2 separate regions of the Homo sapiens genome follow, and region 2 is linked to region 1. The links are contacts of gene promoters, found by promoter capture Hi-C in blood cells and fetal thymus (Javierre and others, 2016). All regions are on one chromosome and are shown on one strand. Each heading gives the region's core, a stretch centred on a gene start or on the middle of the fragment in contact. The rest is flanking DNA. Distances are from core to core; before and after follow the strand shown. Region 1 holds the start of TRIM38 (tripartite motif containing 38). Region 2 holds the start of ZNF184 (zinc finger protein 184).

Region 1 (6,561 bases), core at 1-2,500:
TGTTCCCTTGGCTCCTACACCATCATGACAATAAAATTTGACTCCACCTCGACCCCCCCCATCCCCCACAAAGAACAACAACCAACACTGGTTAATAAGGTCGGTTGTTTTTTGTTTGTGTTTTTGTTGTTGTTGTTTTTGCTTTCAGGAGCAGAGGTATAATAGGCAAAAGAAAGAGAAAGGAGAATAGTGAATACCTCTTCTGCAGAGAGGGGTGCCTAAGTGGGACTTCCCTGGCTAATAACGTCTTGCTAGAGACCCAACCAGGAGGATAATGGAAGCAATCAAGGCAACCAGAACAACCAGAAGAACCGGTTTATCCTTTTTGTGCCCTCTCCCTAAACTGAGGGAATAAGAATTGGAAAGAAGGCTGCAGAGCAGAGGGTTTGCTCCTGAGGAGCAGTTATTTCTATGGGATCAGAGCTCCTGCAGAACTGGGGAGTTTACTTTTACTATCTCTTCTCCAGGACAGGACCTATCTCAAGAGACATGTTCAGAGTGATTGCAACATAAAGAGTTTGCAGACCCAAGGAGGTAGGGAAGGCAGAAAGAAGATGGGGGAGGCCAGGGATAGGCAACAGAGGAGTGACCAGGAGCGAAAAAGCCTGCCTCTTCTGAGAACCTAGCTGGGCTCTCCCTGTACCCCCGATCCCTCCCCCCCGCCCGCCCCCACACCCCTACTCCTGGGAGCTCCTCTAGGACAGGGGCAGAGTCAGGAGGAAGTTTGAAGAGTGCCTAGAATAAAAAACAGTAATTTAACTACAATTACCGGGTAGGCTGTTTTCCTCTCACAATTTGATCAGTCTCTTGAAGCCACACAGAATTTCTTCTGAAGACGTGTATTCCTTGGCAGGCTATTTCCTCCAGTGATACACCAGGCCCCTCTCTGCTGGGGTCACTGCTCTTCTGGGGAGATGGGGCTCCCCTCCTTCCAAGGCTCCAGGGTTCCTGTCCTGGGCCCCACTCATCTAAGTTCTGAATCTTCTGAGATTTGGTGTAAAGTCTGGTGAAAGAAAGAGCAGGAAAGAGGTGAGAGCTGTAAAACAAAGAAAGTCCTGACCATTTTCAGAGTTGGAGGGGCCCTGCTGTCACGAAATATATTCCCCACCCCACTTGCCATCAGTACACACTCACATATCCACTGAGAAAACCTTAGCCTGGACCTTTTCCGTAACCTTCACTGCTCAGACACTTACATATTCGCTGCTAGTCCCCTCTGTTGCTGCCACTTCCTGGGTCAGGAAGTTAACTCAGACCGGATTAAACTGAGAAGTGAAACTACTGTGGGAGGCGGGGCTCATAAGATTTAGGAGAAAACTAGTGACGTTGTTCATATCATTTGCACTCCGCCTCTCCGGTAAAGGAGGGGGAAACGTAGGAAGAAAATATCCTTCTTTTACAGCAATAAAAAGAAGGAACCAATTAATAACCCTGTAAACTATCATGTGACCCCAACACAGAGTATCTAAAAACAGGAAGCCTGCAGAGGTTCAGTTCACAGACTCTGATTTGAGATCTTTCTACTTTTGCCACCAACTCCCTTGGGAGTCCTTAAGCCTTCCTAGCTGATGTTACTTCTTTTGCTATTTATGGGTTGCTTGTGGTTCTATAACTGCTCTGAAGGGTGTGGTGGAAAAAGGGGTGGTAACAGCAGTAGGACTCATTGGCATCACAAAATTCATCTGAGTCAGCTTTCTATTCTTCTCTGTCCCGTTCTGTGTCTTGTTTTTCTCCTTGCTGTCCTTCTGCAGGACTCAGATCTTCTTCAATAGCGAGGGTCAGCCAGGATAGAAAATGGGAGTCACTAGTGGCCCAGCAGTGAGTGCCCCCAGCTTAGAGCTGTGTGGGATCCCTGGGACCATCACTCTGCTTTGTGCTTTGTGGAGAAAAGGCTGTGGGGTCCAGGGTCAAGTCCTTAATGACTTAGCTCCAGCTTCTCCACTTCAAAATGAAAGGAAAAGTACTATCACCACCCGTTAGAATTATTATTTCATGGGGAAAAAAGATGGATTACTATCTCACAATAAGAGCTTGTCACATTTATAAGTCTCAGGTGTAAGAGGCATTTATGATAACAACATAATAAATGCTGGCTTAAGTAGATGCAGTGGTCCAAGGGAACCAGTAAGGGGAGCTCAGGACACAGGTGGGAGGAGAAATTAAACTTGAATTCTGGGAGCCACTGGCCTGTCTGGGCCCCTGGCCTGCCTGCTGACCCTGATAGCCAATGGAACATGGAGTTTGGCCCAGCTGCAATCCCTCTGGTCCAACTACTCAAAATAAAGGCAAGATTGGGAAACACGTTCCTTTCTTCCTATACCAAGCAGAAGACTCTTCAGCACTGCACCCTCCTGGGTGCTCACAGAGCCTTCTGTTGTTTTGCCACCTACGATTCATCATGCCCTGGCATGATGGTTGCAGACCCCATGCATAGCATGGGACATTCTACTCCTGAGGCAACCAGCACACAGAGAGAGGAGAAAGAATGAGCCCCTGAATCCTTGGTCCCACGATGAGTCCTTGCAGATATCTACAACTTTCATTGTTGTGGATGTGACTCTGTACCCAGGCATGGCTCATTCCAGATCTGTCCTATTGTCAGAGGTGTTCAAACCAGAATGACTCCATTTTGAATGGGGGCTAGGTAAAATAAGGCTGAGACCTACTGGGCTGCATTCCCAGGAAGTTAGGCATTGTAAGTCACAGGATGAAATAGGCAGTTGGCACAAGACACAGGTCATAAAGATCTTGCTGATAAAACAGGTTGCAGTAAAGAAGCTGACCAAAACCCACCAAAATCAAGATGGCAACAAGAGTGGCCTCTAGTCATTCTCATTGCTCATTATACACGAATTATAATGTGTTAGCAAGTTAGAAGGCATTCCCACCAGCTCCATAGTGGTTTATAAATACCATGGCGATGTCAGGAAGCTACCCTATATAGTCTAAAAAGGGGAGGAACGCTTGGTTCTGGGAATTGCCCACATCTTTCCCAGAAAACATATGAATAATCCACTCCTTGTTTAGTACATAATCAAGAAATAACTGTAAGTATCTGTATTAGTCCATTTTCACACTGCTGATCCAGACATACCTGAGACTGAGTAATTTATACCAGGAAAAAATGTTTCATGCTCTTACAGTCCCACGTGTCTGGGGAGACCTCACAACCACAGCAGAAGGCAAGGAGGAGCAAGTCAGGTCTTACATGGATGGCAGCAGGCAAAGAGCTTGTGCAGGGAAATTCCTTTCTATAAAACCATCAGGTCTCATGAAACTTATTGACTATCATGAGAACAGCAGTATAAATTACTCAGGGAAAGACCTGCCCCCATGATTCAATTACCTCCCACCAGGTCCCTCCCACAATATGTGGGAATTTAAGATGAGAGTTAGGTGGGGACACAGCCAAACCATATCAGTATCCTTAGTCCAGAAGCTGATGCTCTGCCTGTAGAGTAGCCGTTCTTTTATTCCTTTACTTTCTTGCTTTCACTTTACTGTGTAGACTTGCCCCAAATTCTTTCTCACACGAGATCTAAGAACCTTCTCTTAGGGTCTGGGTTGGGACCCCCTTTCTGGTAACACTATCAAAGGATCAGGAAAAGGAAGCTAGTGAATGCTAAAAAGGAAACAAACTACCATTACCAATAATAACAGCAAGACAAAAGCAAAACGGATTGTGACAGCTGTCCCATCTCACACCTGTTTCCCATTGCAGGAAGGAGGGGCTGGTTCATGCACAGAGTGGCCAATATTAGAAGCAGAGATGGGGTGCAGATGAGACTTCAGGAATATGTTGACAAAGGCAGGCCTAGGGAGAAATCAACCTGAACTATCCCCAAGGAGGAATGCATTATCTCTAATATGTAAAGTTAGGCTTGATCCTGTGATTATGGGATATAGGAGTCCAAAGACTCACAATGGGAAGTAGGTCACTAGAGTCTCCTTCAGAAGCTCTGTACTGTGTGTTCCCACTGTGGGCAAGAGTCAGCACTCAGCTATTCCTAGAATGCCTTTCCTCAACTCCTTCAGATTTTGCCTCTCAACTAACCCTATCCTGACCACTTGTTAGCAAGTGTACCCCTCTCTCCCTCCCAAACATTTTCAAATCTATTTTGTTCCCATGGCACTTATCACTGAATATTTTACTAATTTATTTTGTTTAGTGTTTGCTTCCCTCATGAGAATGCAAAGGGATGGATTTTTTTCAATATTGTTCACTGATGAATCCCAGTAACTAGAATATTTCTAAGCATAGTGATGTGCATTAAATCAAAGAGTAACTTTCTGAATTGCACTAAACACACATCACAAGAGGTGTGTGCACATATGTGCATGATGCACGTAGTGTGGTGTGGGTGTTGTGTGGGGTATGTGGTACTGTGTGTGCTGTGTGTGGTATGTGATACATAGTTTGTGTTAGTGTGATGCATGTGATGTGGTATGTGTGTGCGTGTCCATACATATTAGGGGTGGCGGGGATGTTAATATGTCAAATGGTACTAGAAAGTATCAGAACTCATGGTGCTTACTGGTTTCCCAGAGAGCTGCTTCTCTCCCACCTGTAGGATATACTGATGGTTTGGACAGAGAAGAAATAAAAAGAAGGCTGTGACCTACTGGGCTGAGGAAATAAAAACGAAAGTAAAAGAAGAGCTGGGAAAAGAGAGTGGAGGGGCCAAGGGAAATTTCCCCTTTGGCTTCTGGGGAAACTTTGCTGAAAAATCAACTCACAAATTTATTAACATGTACACAGGGAGAACCATAGAATGATTATCCACTTCCCAAGAGGGCTTAAAAGCTTATATATTATCCTGGCAAAACAGATTATGGGAGGGGAAGAAGAGAAACTCTGTTGATGGGATTACTGTTGCGGATTTTTGCTCCTTCGCTCAGCTAGGTCCGGGTTTTTGTCTCACAGCCAGGAAGAATTAGGCATGCAGCCATCAAAGAATGAGTGGAGTAGAATTTATTAAGTGAAAGGAAAGCTCTCAGCAAAGACAAGGGTCCTGAAAGCAGATTTCTGGTTTGCTCTTCACAGTTGAATACTAGGGCTTAAGACTCAAATTCCTGACAACTCCACCCTGTCCTACCAGTGCATGCAGGCCTTTAGACTGAGCTACTCCATATTGATTAATTTCCTGAACTGTGCATGTGTTAAGGAAAGGAATCATCCACTGCAGGCATGTTTAGGCAAGCCCCCTGTGCAAGTTCCCTTATCTGCACAAAACATCCGGTGTAAGCACTTGTGGGGCAGGTCAGAGGTTCTCTGGGTACCATTCCCTTACTGTCTGCCTAAAGCAAGCTGGCCAACTCCTTTCATTACTAGGGAGAGTAAGTAGATCAGGGAACAGAGATTAACTTGAACATTATCTTGTGAAAGTCCGTTCGGGCATGGTTACATTCTTGGTCTTACAGGAAGGGTAAATAAAAATAATTGCTCTTTTTGGTGGGTCTGGATCTTAGGTAGATAAAGAAACTTTAATTCCACGATGTGTTTTGGTAGGGATAGTTGGTGGCAGGGATGTCAGAGAGACTTTGAGGCTTCTTCAGTTCAATATGACCAAGGGCCATATATTAGGGTATCAATTTCTGAGCCCCAACAAGAGCTTAGGAGAGATGTGATAGCATCACAGTGTGAAAGCAATTTTTTGTTTGTTTTTAGAGACAGGCTCTTGCACTGTCACCCTGGCTGAAGTACAATGGTACGATCACAGCTCACTGTAATCTTGAACTGGGTTCAAATGATCCTCCCATCTAAGCATTTCAAAGTGTTGGGATTACAGGCATGAGCCACGGTACCCAGCCTGAAACTGCACCCACTTTCTGATAAACTTTTCAAATGACTAAAGGGGAGAGAGTAAGCACTACTCAGAGGTAGGAAGAAAGGACACAGGATTATAGGATTAAAACAACAACCACCAAAAAAAACCAGACCGGTGTGGTGGCTCACACCTGTAATCACAGCACTTGGGGAGGCTGAGGTGGGGGGAGTCACTGGAGGCCAGGAGTTCGAGACGAGCCTGGCCAACATAGCAAGATGCTGTCTCTATTAAAAAAAAAAAATACCTGCCTTGAGCTAATCAGAATCATGGACCCTGACAAAGGATGTCCCAAAGTAAGTCTTAGCATTTTTTTTTTTTTTTTGAGACAGTCTCGCTGTGTTGCCCAGGCTGAAGTTCAGTGGCGTGATCTCGGCTCACTGCAACAGCTGCCTCCCAGGCTCAAGCAATTCTCCCTGCCTTCAGCCTCCCAAGTAGCTGGGATTACAGATGCCCACCACCACGCCTGGCTAATTTTTGTTTTTTTTAATAGAGATGGGGTTTTGCCATGTTAACCAGGCAGGTCTTGAACTCCTGACCTCAAGTGATCTGCCCACCTTGGCCCCTCCATAGTGCTGGGATTACAGGCGTGAGTCACTGCACCCGGCAAAGTCTTAGCATTCTTTACAAACAGTTTGTACCCGTATCTCTAAAAGGGAGTAGTGAATTTCACCCCAAAATGTGGCTTCCTGATATAATGAGTATTTTGAATGAAAAACTCTTAGAGATCAACAGA
Region 2 (6,561 bases), core at 1,932-4,431, 1.5 Mb before region 1:
AAAAGGTTTCTGAGGGCTGGGTTCAGTGGCTTATGGACTGTAACCCCAGCATTTAGGAAGGCCGAGGTGGGAGGATTGCTTGAGGTCAGGAGTTGGAGGCCACTTTGTGCAACATATAGAGAAGTCACTGAAGACAAAAATTATATCTTTCTGTGTCCTCAACATGTATTGAAAGCCTCATTTGTATAAGGTATGGCTAAAAGTTTTCCAAATCATGAGTGCTGGTTCCTTTGTGCTGAATAGTTCCTTCCTCAGTTTATTTCTTTCCTCATGCATTTCACCATAAGCAGCAATAACTAACCAGGTTGCACATTCCACATTTTACTTGGAAGTCTTCTTAACTAAATATTCAAGTTCATCATGTACAAATTCTGTTTTCCACCCAAATATAGAATACAATTCAGCCAAGGCTCTCCCACTTTATAACAAGATAACCATTCCTTCAGTTTCTAATTGCATGTCATTAATTTCCTTCTGAGACCTTACCATAAGCATATTTAACATTCTTATATTTTAAATTTAATAGAACATTTTGGGAACAGTTTTAGGTTTATAGAAAAATTGAGCAGAAAGTAGAGTTTCAGTATACTCCTTCCTTCTCCCCTCCTCCCCCAGTTTCTCTATTATTAACATCTTGCACTAGTGTGGTACATCTGTTAAAATTGATGAGCCAATGTTGATAAATTATTATTAACTAAAGACCATAGTTTATATTACGGTTCACTCTTTGTGCTGTATATTCTATGGGTTTTAACAAATGTATAACAACATGTATTCGCCATTACAATATCATACAGAATAGTTTCACTGCCTTAAAAATCCACTGAACGTCACTTATTCTTCCCTCTTAAAATCCACTGAACGTCACTTATTCTTCCCTCTTAAAATCCACTGAATGTCACTTATTCTTCCCTTTTTCCCTCCCCCTAAGCCCCTGGCAACCACCAATCTTTGCTGTTTCCATAGATTAGCCTTTTCAGGAATGTTATGTAGATGGAATTATACAGTATATAGCCTTTTCCAGATTGACTTCTTTCACTCACCAATACGCACTTAATATTCTTCTGTTCTTCCTTTTTGGTAGCTTGATAGCTCATTTCTTTTCCTTACTGAATGTTCCATTGTCTGAATGTACCATAGTTTATGTATTCATTCATGTACTGAAGGACATCTGGCTGCTTCCAAGTTTTGCCTATCATGAACAAAGCTGCTATAAACATTCTTGGGCACGTTTTGTGTGGACATACATTTTCAACTCCTTTGCATAAATACCAAGGAACACAATTACTAGATCATATGGTAAGAGTATGTTTAGTTTTGTAAGAAATTGTCAAACTGTCCTCCAACGTAACTCTAATATTTTGCATTCCCACCAGCAATGAATGAAAGTTCCTGTGCTCCACATCCTTGTCAGCATTTGGTATTGTCAGGGTTCTGGATTTTGGCCATTTTGACAGGTGTATAGTGGCATCCCATTGTTTTAATTTGCATTTCACTGAGGACATATGTGGAGCATCTTTTCATATGCTTATTTTCCATCTGCATATCTTCTTTGGTGACATCTGTTAGGGTCTTTGGCCTATTTTTTTAATCGGTTTGTCTCCTTATTGTTGAGTTTTAAGAGTTCTTATATATTTTGGATATCAGTTCTTTATCAGATATGTACTTTGCAAGTATTTTCTCCCAGTCTGTGACTTGTCTTTTCATTCTCTTGAACATTTTTTTTTAAACCAATGTTCTCTTCATGGCAATATATGCATTCTCTAAGATGACCGAAGCTTTCTCTATCATGTTCCCTTGACTGTAATTGTTTTTCATACACTCTGTTAGGATTTCCAGGTTTAATGTTTGTCAGCCAACAGTCTGAGAGACTTGACCTTGGCCCCTTATCCAAATGCTGGGGATGCACGCCAGCATAATAAAATGCAAGTGCCATGTCTTAAATATAAAAACCTACCGATTTGTTGGATTCTTTTTTTCTGCCAAGGACACAGTGACAGACTGGCCATGGGCTACACTTGCAGCTATGTGCTCGCTGACACAGGCATATAAAATGCTTTACTAAGTGGCAAAACATGGGAATATTATCTCCGGGTTTCCTTAAGCATTAGAAAAACATGTTGGGGCCGGGCGCAGTGGCTCACGCCTGCAATCCCAGCACTTTGGGAGGCCGAGGCGGGCGGATCACTTGAGGTCAGGAGTTCGAGACCAGCCTGGCCAACATGGTGACCCCCTCGTCTCTACTAAAAATACAAAAATTAGCCGGGGATGGTGGTGCATGCCTGTAATCCCAGCTACTCGGGAGGCTGAGGCAGGAGAATCGCTTGAACCCGGGAGGTGGAGGTTGCAGCGAGCCGAGATCGCGCCATTGCACTCCAGCCTGAGCAACAGAGCTAGATTCCGTCTCAAAAAAAAAAAAAAAAAAAAAAAAGTTGGTCGCCACTCATTTGAGAGTCGTGAAAACAATTTTAATGGGTAACTACCAGTATTTTCAAAACGACAAAAGAGTAGAACAGAAAATAGAAGGTAGAACATGTAATAAAGGTAACGATTGTTTGCGTTTTAAAACTGTGTGTAGACGTGTATTTCTTTTTTTTCTTTTCTTTCTTTCTTTTTTTTTTTTTTGTTGTTTTGTTTTTTTGAGACGGAGTCTCGCTCTGCCGCCCAGGCTGGAGTGCAGTGGCGCGATCTCGGCTGACTGCAACCTCTTCCTCCCGGGTTCAAGCGATTCTTCTGCCTCTGCCTCCTGAGTAGCTACAGGCGCGCGCCACCACGCCCGGCTAATTTTTGTATTTTTAGTAGAGACGGGGTGTCACCATATTGGCCAGGCTGAGTCTCGAACTCCTGACCTAGTGATCCACCCACCTCGGCCTCCCAAAGTGCTCAGATTACAGACGTGAGCCACTGCGCTCGGTCAGTAGACGTGCATTTCTTATAATCAGTTCAGTCAGACAAGTTTACAATGCACACGCATACCTGAAACAGGAGCAAAAGACTGGCGGCGAAAATGTGCGGCCCATCGCAGGGCGAAAGTACACGTTAGCTAAAGCCTCTGGGAAATGAAGTTCAGGAACACCTTCGCGGAGTGTTCTGGGAACGCTGGTCCAGTGTGCCCGCCCGGCGCCGGCGTGCGGGGCGGGGCTCGCTCGTAACGACCGGAAGTGACCGTTGAAGCCGGTTGTAGGCGTGGAAAGAGGTTGGCGCGCTGGAAGTCCAGTTGCTTCGGCTCCCTGCGTTAGGTCTGGTGGCGGTCAATGCGCTTCCGGACCCGGGATCAGAGTGTGTGGATCGCTATAGGGGGAGGGGAGCTCAGGTATCACCATGGCAACAGCCAGCCCTCCGGACTCGTGACGTCACCCTTCTGATTTCGCGCTTAGAGGCCTCTGCAGGAGAAAGCTGGGGAGTCCTCGAAGGGGGCGCACCTCGCCTCCTTCTGTGCGGGGCGGTCCCGCCCTGATCCCTTGGAGGGCTTTGTTCTTTTGTTCTGGCCTAAGGGGAAGTCGGGTGCCGGGCCCCGCCCTGTTTGTCCACCTTCCAGCTTTAACGCTCTGCAACAGGTGTGTCTTCGTGTTATCCGAGCTCGCAGGGGTGTGAGTCACAAGTGTGCACAGAGGGAACACACCAGGTCTGTGGATGCCCCGGCCAGATTCTAGGGTGGGCACCAAGGGTTTTTTGGATCTGAAGCAGAACCCGCGTACCCGATCTCCACTCTGTTTTGTTCATCGGAGTGCCACACACCTCTCTAGTGCTCTCTTGGGGCACTTCTCTTGTGTAGCACCTCTTGGTCACTTTGCAAGACTCTGATGTGTGATTGTGTGACGTATGCTGCTGACGCCATCCTGTGTCTTTTAGGGTAGACAACCTCAGCGTGTTGCAGATTCCCTGCAAGGGGAGTTAGACATCTGAGTCCTAGACCGAGATACCAGCTGAAGGAACGCTGCCTGGCGAACCCTGGTGTTCAAGTTCCAGAGGAACGGGATGAGCTCCTGAGATGGAAGGTAGTGGGGTCGACTTGGGGGAGAGCGGGGTGATGGAGGCTTGAGAACAGTCATGACTGGAGTATCAAATACTTGAGATCAGAGCAGGAGATTTGGAAGGAAGGAACGGTATGCTTAGGGATTAGCAAAGAAACCGAATTACATTGTAGGGAGAGATTCTGTTTTATAGAGAGATACTTGGGAGAGGAGTTTATTTTTTTCTTTCGTTCCATTGGGGAATGAAAAGACATAATCATTCAGAATATCTGTGATCCCCACATGACTTCTGAATATTAAATATTAAAATTATAATCTTGAAGTCAGAAGACATCTTGGCAATTATCCCTTCAATGAAAGAGTCAGTTTTGAAATCTCCTTGGCAGACGGCTGTCTGTCAACCCTATGCCCGAACTAGTGTGGCATTAAACTCGCCATTTTGGGTGCAGACTATTCCCTTGTTGGCTTTCTTTTTTAGTTTCTTATATTAAACAGATGTACTTGTCCCTGTAACTTTTGTGTTGATCTTAGTTCTTAGTCCTCCAAAGAAAAGGAAACTGTCTGTTCTTTCTTTCACACTGCTGCCCTTAAGATATGTGAATTCAGCTGTTACAACTCCTCCTCATAAATTCTTTTCTAAGCAATATAGCCTCACTTCTTTTGATTGGTCTATGTGATGTATCTAGACCTTTCTCTGAAAACTCTCCTGCTTGTCAGCATTTTTCTTAAAATGCAGTGCCTAATGGTAAACATAGCTCTTTGGATGTGCTTTGAAAAGTACCTGAGAGGATAATGTACTACTTCCTTTGACTCGGATTATACTTCCGCTGTTTGGCATTAGATCACATTTGCTTTAAAAACTATCAGTGATGTACTGTAAACTTTAGATCTTTTTTACATAAACTGCAGTGATCTAGATTTACACCATTTTTGTGTAATGGAATTATTATTATCCTTAATGTCATGACTTACATTTATGACTGTTCAATTTTTTGGTCACATGTTTTAGGCTTTCAGAATGATTATGAATCCTAATTTAGTTATTCAGTGCCTTAACTGTCCTTTCTAACTTAATGCCACTAGCGGATTTGATGAATATTCCTTCTATTTCTTCCTACCTGTCATTGAACAGATCAGGGTAAGGATAGAGGCTTATGACATGTCCCTATGGAGTTCTCTCTGCATTGGTGTTGTCTTTACATTCTTTAGGTATGGCTGTGCAATCAAGTTTGGTTTGACCTAACTATTATCATGCAGTCCTTTTTTTGCCTTTGTTAAAGATAATATCATTAGAAGTCTTAACATTATTCATATTAGTCATGTGAATAATGTAGGTTTGGTCCATACTTTTCTTCAATTTTTTGTACTTCAAGTCTTTTTTACAGTGGATTTTTTTATATATATATTCTAAGTTTCTCAGAATTAAATCAGCCAAAGTAGTTTCATTAAAAGCCTTTGTATTTTCTTTATTTTGTGGATTTCTCACAATTTTATCATTAGGATTAACTTTACTGAGCCTCTGTTCCTTGTAATCATAACTTTTGTAGCACATACTGAGCATTTACTATGTGCCAAGCACACAGTTGGTTTCTGTAACTGTTGCTGTTTTTGGTTCTGTTGGTTGCTGTTATTTGGAATAAAAAGCATCTTACCTGAGACATTTCTCTTGATTCTGTTTTCCTAAAGTCTTAGGTACCTGTCTGTGCATTTAGAACATTTTCTTTCACTGTTAAGAGCTTCCAAGATAATATCTTCATTTTTTTCTTAAGACTTCTGTTACAAAACAGTTTTTCTTTACTGGTCAAGATCAAGTTGAGCATAATAGTTCCCTTTATTGCTTCCTCTACTTTCTGAGGCATGACACCATTAATATAAATTAAGAATTTCTTGATTAATACATTTTTTACAAAATGAAACTTACATACTTAGCCAAACAGTTGAAACTGCTTTTCTCCATATTATTCATCACCCCCACCTGCCTAAGCTGTCTATGGCACACTGTTGCCAGCATGGTGCTACTTTTGTTTTTTTTTTTCTTTCTTTCTTTCGATTTATCTACAATTTCTATCAGGTTTCACACTCAGGATTATTGCATCACATACAATAATCCATCTCTTAGTCTGTCTGTTTATATCAGATCATTTTGCGTAAATTTTACCCAGCTCTCTTTTAAACAAGGCTTGGTCATAAAACCCACACTAGGCCAGTTAGCTGTCTCTGGAATTTGAATCTTGGAACTAAAATTAGATGGCACTGACCTACCCTAATGGTGGTATCCCAAAGAGATTGCCCTTGCACCTTAGTGGTGCAATTTAGATTCCCTTGGGTTCTGTCCATTTGATTGTTTAGCTTTTCTTTTTATTCTTCATGTTCCCCACTGTCTTTATATTTAGTCCCTTAGTTGATTTTTTTTTATAGTTTTAAGGTCTTATGTCTTCCAACCCAACAAGCCTTGGTTAATGCCTAAAATATTGAGTTTCCCTTCTTTTTTTCAGGTGTACATTCACTTGGCTTATTGCCACTATCTCACACATCTATGTGTGGTCATAAATATCCATCTTGACCCTTACCTGTTTGATTGTTTTTT

The links. The method cuts DNA at HindIII sites, captures the fragments that hold promoters and counts their contacts. A CHiCAGO score of 5 or more calls a contact.
Region 2: a contact is called between the fragment with the promoter of ZNF184 here and the fragment with the promoter of TRIM38 in region 1, in 3 of 17 cell types (non-activated CD4 T cells, naive CD8 T cells and activated CD4 T cells). The highest score is 13.9, in non-activated CD4 T cells.

What each region holds. Positions count from the first base shown.
Region 1 is chr6:25,957,491-25,964,051 of GRCh38, reverse strand. It overlaps TRIM38 (tripartite motif containing 38), which reads right to left and starts at 1,250. Exons shown (of 8, transcript NM_006355.5): 1 at 1,197-1,250; 2 at 770-1,003. RefSeq lists a cis regulatory region at 5,078-5,382. The HindIII fragment of the contact is 6,907 bases long and covers 1-4,806 here.
Region 2 is chr6:27,469,725-27,476,285 of GRCh38, reverse strand. ZNF184 (zinc finger protein 184) reads left to right here and starts at 3,181. Exons shown (of 6, transcript NM_001318891.2): 1 at 3,181-3,557; 2 at 3,853-3,998. The coding sequence starts at 3,992. It overlaps LOC105375001 (a long non-coding RNA gene), which reads right to left and starts at 3,162. Exons shown (of 2, transcript XR_926664.4): 1 at 2,977-3,162; 2 at 306-1,192. RefSeq lists enhancers at 3,170-3,329, 3,390-3,489, 3,510-3,599, 3,930-4,059. The HindIII fragment of the contact is 5,482 bases long and covers 1,781-6,561 here.